2 separate regions of the Homo sapiens genome follow, and region 1 is linked to region 2. Evidence: promoter capture Hi-C in 16 types of primary human blood cells and fetal thymus (Javierre and others, 2016). All regions are on one chromosome and are shown on one strand. The core of a region is centred on a gene start or on the middle of the fragment in contact, and the rest is flanking DNA. Distances in the headings are between cores, read along the strand shown.

The links. The method cuts DNA at HindIII sites, captures the fragments that hold promoters and counts their contacts. A CHiCAGO score of 5 or more calls a contact.
Region 1: a fragment that was not itself captured here is called in contact with the fragment with the promoter of SGSM3 in region 2 in 2 of 17 cell types (endothelial precursors and M2 macrophages); the score reaches 6.0 in endothelial precursors.

The regions. Positions count from the first base shown.
Region 1 is chr22:40,640,695-40,643,596 of GRCh38, forward strand. No RefSeq gene overlaps it. Among named protein-coding and RNA genes, the nearest start is that of MRTFA, 5.4 kb to the left of the region's middle. The HindIII fragment of the contact is 3,975 bases long and covers 1-2,902 here.
Region 2 is chr22:40,369,048-40,371,946 of GRCh38, forward strand. SGSM3 (small G protein signaling modulator 3) reads left to right here and starts at 1,547. Exons shown (of 22, transcript NM_015705.6): 1 at 1,547-1,641. ADSL (adenylosuccinate lyase) reads left to right here. Exons shown (of 13, transcript NM_000026.4): 13 at 1-320. RefSeq lists an enhancer at 1,233-1,442 and silencers at 1,593-1,702, 1,763-1,932. The HindIII fragment of the contact is 2,317 bases long and covers 1,395-2,899 here.

The sequences.
Region 1 (2,902 bases), core at 234-2,733, 270 kb after region 2:
GGCACTCCCACCAGTGCCGTGACAGTTTACAGATACCATGGAAATGTCCAGAGGTTACCCTCTCTGGTCTAAAAATGGGAGGAAACCTCAGTTCCAGTTCCAGGGATTGCCCACCCCTTTCCCAGAAAATTCATGAATAATCCATCCCTTGCTTAGCATATAATCGAGAAGTGACAATAAGTATAAGCAGCTGAGTGGCCCATGCCACTGCTCTGCCTATGGAGTGGCCATTCTTTTGTATCTCTTTTTTTTTTTTTCCTTTTTTTGACACAGAGTCTTGCCCTGTCACCCAGGCTGGAGTGCAGTGGCACAATCTCAGTTCACTGCAACCTCTGCCTCCCAGGTTCAAGCGATTCTCCTCCCTCAGCCTCCAGAGTAGCTGAGACTACAGGTGCGTGCCACCACACCTGGCTAATTTTTGTATTTTTGGTAGAGAGGGGCTTTCACCATATTGGCCAGGCTGGTCTAGAACTCCTGGCCTCAAGTGATCTGCACCCCGACTCAGCCTCCGAAAGTGCTGGGATTACGGGCCTGAGCCACTGCACCTGGCCTCTTGTTTCCTTACTTCTCTAATAAACTTGCTCTCACTTAACTCTATGAATTCGCCTCAAATTCTTTCTTGCACGAGATCCAAGAACCCTCTCTTGAGGTCTAGATCAGGAGGCCTTGCTGGTAACAGAACCACTCCGCCCCACTGTCTATCCCTGTAGCTGCCTTGGGAATATGACTCACTACTCACCTTGGGGTTGGGGGGTGGGGGGGATCACATGGCCCAGTCCTAACCAATGAAAGCACTCCAACCCTTGCCTGCCATCATTTGTAGTGATTGATTTAGGGAAAGACATGTGATCAAGACAGTCCAGTTAGCGTGAGTCCTGGCATCTTGTTAGAACTACTGGGATGGGGCCGAGAGCAGTGGCACATGCCTGTAATCCCAGCAATTTGGGAGGCGGGGGGATCACCTGAGGTCAGGAGTTCAAGACCAGTCTGACCAATATGGTAAAACCCCGTCTCTACTAAATACAGCTGGCTGTTGTGGCTCGCGCCTGTAATCCCAGCTACTTGGGAGGCTAAGGCAGGAGAATCGCTTGAACCTGGGAGGCTGAGGCAGGAGAATCGCTTGAACCTGGGAGGCAGAGGCTGCAGTGAGCCAAGATCATGCCATTGCACTCCAGCCTGGGAAACAAAAGCAAAACTCCATCTTAAAAAAAACAACTACTGGGATGGAGTTTTCTCTACAGGAGGGTTGCTGAACTGTCTGGCTGTACACCTGGCATTAACAGTGAGGACCACAGGGAGAATAAAGCCAACACAAAACCAAACAATCACAGCTGAAATACGCATAAAGGCCATGACGGATGATAGCTCTGTTTGAGAACCTAGATCCAGTTCTTTTCTGGCTATTTGATTTCATAGGTGTCTTGGGTCAGGGCCCTTAGAAACAGAGCCTGTAAGACAGAGCCAATGAACAGGACTTAGTGAGGGAGGAAAAACCTGTAAGGGAGGAAGATGAGCAAGACAGAGAAGGGAAGAGACTCGAGTAAGGCTCAGCCTGATCTTTCCTTGGCCTGATGCACATAGGAGAGCTCTGGGCAGAAACAACACCACAGTCACTCACCTTGAGGCATGGACAGCTTTTTGTCCCCTAGTCTATGTCAGTGGTTGTGGGCCCTAAGGAAGTTAAGGTCCCCAAGGCCACTCCCTTCAAATGAGGGCAATTCTCTGAAATTTTGTGCAGCTGGGAACCCTTAGCAGCCAACACTCACAGCAGCTGGGGCATGGGTGCACTTACCTGCTCAGGAGGCATCATTTGAGTTGTCCGCTGTGGGCTAACACATTCCTATTGTTGCAGCAAAAATGTAACTATGTAAAGTGCTCAGGTATGACCTGACCTGACTGCCAAACAGTACCGTGAGCCTGTGGCCTTCCTCGGTCTGACTCCCTACGTCTACTATTAAACTATACTTTTTGCATGTGTATATGGAGACAGGGTCTTACTCTGTCACTCAGGCTAGAGTGCAGTGGTGTGATCATAGCTCACTGCAGCCTCCAACACCTGGGCTCAAGCGATCTTCCCACCTCAGCCTCCCAAGGAGCTTGGAAGTACAGATGCTCACCACCTTGCTCAACTAATTTTTAAATTTTTTTTGTAGAGACAGGGCCTGGTTATGTTGCCCAAGCTGGTCCCAAACTCTTGGCTTCAAGTGATCCTTCCACCTCAGCCTCCCAAACACTGGGATTACAATTGTAAGCCACCGTGCCTGGTTCATTTTATTTATTTTTTATTACTTTTTTTTTAATTTTTATTTATTTATTTATGACAGAGTTTTGTTCTATTGCCCAGGCTGGAGTGCAGTGGTGCAATCTTGGCTCACTGCAACGTCTGCCTCCCGGGTCCAAGTGATTCTCCTGCCTCAGCCTCCTGAGTAGCTGGGACTACAGGCATGTACCACCACACCTGGCTAATTTTTTTGTATTTTTAGTAGATAGCAGGGTTTCACCATGTTGGCCAGGCTGGTCTTGAACTCCTGGCCTCCAGTGATCTGCCCGCCTTGGTCTCCCAAAGTGTTGGGATTACAGGTGTGAGCCACCGTGCCTGGCTTCATTTTATATTTGCATCGGCAGATCTAGTGGCTGCACTGACCCTTTGGCTCAACCTGACTTTATAACCAATCCTTTCCACCCCCTTCCCTCTAGAGCTTTTCCCAAAAACTGATACTAAGCCAAATTCACTCTTGTATTTCTATAATTAATTCTTTTTTTTTTTTTTTTGAGATGGAGTCTCGCTCTTGTCGCTCAGGCTGGATTGCAGTGGCGGGATCTTGGCTCACTGCAACCTCCGTCTCCCGGATTCAAGCAATTCTCCTGCCTCTATAATTAATTCTTTAACACAAATGTAAAA
Region 2 (2,899 bases), core at 297-2,796:
CTACTATCAGTTTATCTGTAATGTGAGAATTTATATTACATAACAGATACTGGGGATATAGGATACCATGGATTTTAGTTAATACATTTCCTCATAGAAAATAAGGAAATAACAGTCTTGTTCCTGTCCTAACAATTCTGTTAGACTAATGATCTCCAGTGATTGGCGATTTGACCTGGTTTCTTCCTGGACTATTTGAATGGGTGGATTTGTTGGTGCATCTCTTGTCTTCTTTCCTTTTCCATTCTCCTTTATTTTTGTATTTACATACTTGTATGCAACTTTGTAATCTGATTTTCCCATGTAACATTTTAATTTGATGGGTGGTCTGCGTGTTCACTGGAAAACATATATATATTAAATGTACATTTATGTATATATATAAAATATACATTCATATATATTATATATAATATACATTCATATATATTATATATAATATACATTCATATATCTATCTTTTATATATATATATAGACAAGATCTTGCTCTGTCGCCCAAGCTGGAGTGCAGTGGCATGACCACAGTTCACTGCAGCCTTGATTTCCTGGGCTCAAGCGATCCTCTCACCTCAGCCTCTTGAGTAGCTGGGACTATGGCACACACAACCACACGTGGTTCATTTTTTGTTGTTTTTTGTAGAGACAGGGTCTCACTCTGTTAACCCAGGCTGTTGTATTTTCTTTAAGATTGGTTTAAATTCACACGGACTCCAGCATCAGAACTACCCAGATGTCAGGTTCTGGGCAGAACTTGGGGCAACTGATGAAATGTCTGCTCAGCTGAAGTCAGACACCTGGACACTTAATGCCCTCTTTCCCTGGCTGATGCTCAGTTTCATTTAAGAACCAGGAGAGCCTGATGTTTGTAAACACAGCTTTAGTGGAAGCACGAGGGTTAGGAGTCCCTAGAAAGGTGATATGAAGCCTAGGTGGATGTGAGGGTTGGTGAGATGGGAATTGCACAGCATAGAATCTGACACAGAAGGTACTCAGAAAATTTCGTTTTCCGGCCTGGCGCGGTGGCTCACGCCTGTAATCCCAGCACTTTGGGAGGCTGAAGCGGGCAGATCATCTGAGGTCAGGAGTTCGAGACCAGCCTGGCCAACATGGTGAAACCCCGTCTCTACTAAAAATACTGTACTAAAAATACAAAAAAATTAGCTGGGCGTGGTGGCGGGCGCCTGTAATCCCAGCTACTCGGGAGGCTGAGGCAGAGAACTGATTGAACCTGGGAGGTGGAGGTTGCAGTGAGCCGAGATCACGCCACTGCACTTCAGCCTGGGTGACAGAGCGAGACTCCATCTCAAAAAAAAAAAAAAAAAAAAATTAGCAAGTTATTTGCAGCGTCTATCTCCCACCACCCTGACTGCTGGTCCACACCATACTGTCCCAAGCTTCTCAGGCTGCGGTGCAGACGAAGAAATCATCGCTATGCATGCTGGCCTTGGGATGGGGGCGCAAAGCCCCTGGACGCGCCCCGCCTAGTGGGCGGGAACGACTACAGCCCCCAGCATGACCCGCGGCCGCCCATGCCACGCCCCGCCACGCGTGCGCTTAGGCGCCGCTGAGCGCTGACTGGGTGCGAGTGGGGAAGCTGCTAACCCGACCCGGATTGGCGCTGAGGTGGCCCGTGGGGCAGGTGAGTGCGGGGCGGGAGTCAGCGGAGACCCACCGGCGCCTACAAGTTCCCCTCAGGCGGGGGCTGCGGGGCGGCTGTGGTCGGACTGTCCGACCGAGGGTCGTATGGGCCGAAGGCGCCCACGAGAGAAGCACCGCCTCGGGCCGGAGAGCCGCCGGGCCGACCTTGCTCGCGTCGCCGTTGGAATGGGGGCCGGGGACGCGGCGGGGCGGGGAGGTCGGCTGCGTCCTCCGGTGCGGCCGCCCCTAGACGGCCGAGGCCACCTCAGGTGTTCGGGGCGCCAGCCGGAATCCACCGCGCTGGCAGCCGGGAGCGGTTTTACGAAAACCGCGCCTGAGGCGGGGGGCTTTCTAAAAAGAGCCTGGCTGGCTCTGGCACCGGGACAGCTGCAGACTCCTCCTCAGGTTTAACTTGCGGTTTTCCCTTTAAGATTCAGATCCAGGTGCAGAACCCGGGCTCGGATCCAGGCCCGAGACTCGGAACACCGGTGTGTTTGCATTTTAGCACGGGGGAAACTGAGGCATACGTTAGCCAGAATCATCCGGTGTGGTTAGGACTGGAATTTTGAAAATTATTCTCATACTTAGTTTACTGACCTAGGCTCTTTTTTATTTGGAAAGAAAAATAAAGATGTTTCAAAGGTTGTTTTCAGTGACTGGGTGACTAGTGTATCTTCCAGTCTCACGCTGCACGTTTGTGGTGGGTTGATGGCTCTTTTTTGTTTTGCGGTGGGATAGAGATGTCCTGGAATGTTCTACACCTTTCTTATTCTTTCTTAGTAAATTCAAGTCAAATCAGACTCTGATTCACAAAAACTCATTTTCAACTTCGACTCGTTTACTCGTAGTTTTTGTGACAGGTTTGTGATTAGGTTTATAGGTACATATGTTTCCCGCTTTTCTTGCTCTTTTAGTTCCAATTATCTCTGCACTCTAAACAGTTGAATTACATCTTTGTTTTTACACTATTTCTGTTCTTGGTGATTAATTTGTAATTCTTCTTTTCTTTTCTTTTCTATTTTTTTTTTAAGACGGGAGTTTCGCTCTTGCCCGGGCTGGAGTGCAATGACATGATCTCGGCTCACTGCAAGCTCCGCCTCCCGGATTCAAGTGATTCTCCTGCCTCAGCCTACCGAGTAGCTGGGATTACAGGCGCCCGCCACCACGCCCGGCTAATTTGTGTATTTTTAATAGAGACGGGGTTTTTCGCCATGTTGGCCAGGCTGGTCTCGAACTCCTGACCACAGGTGATCCGCCCG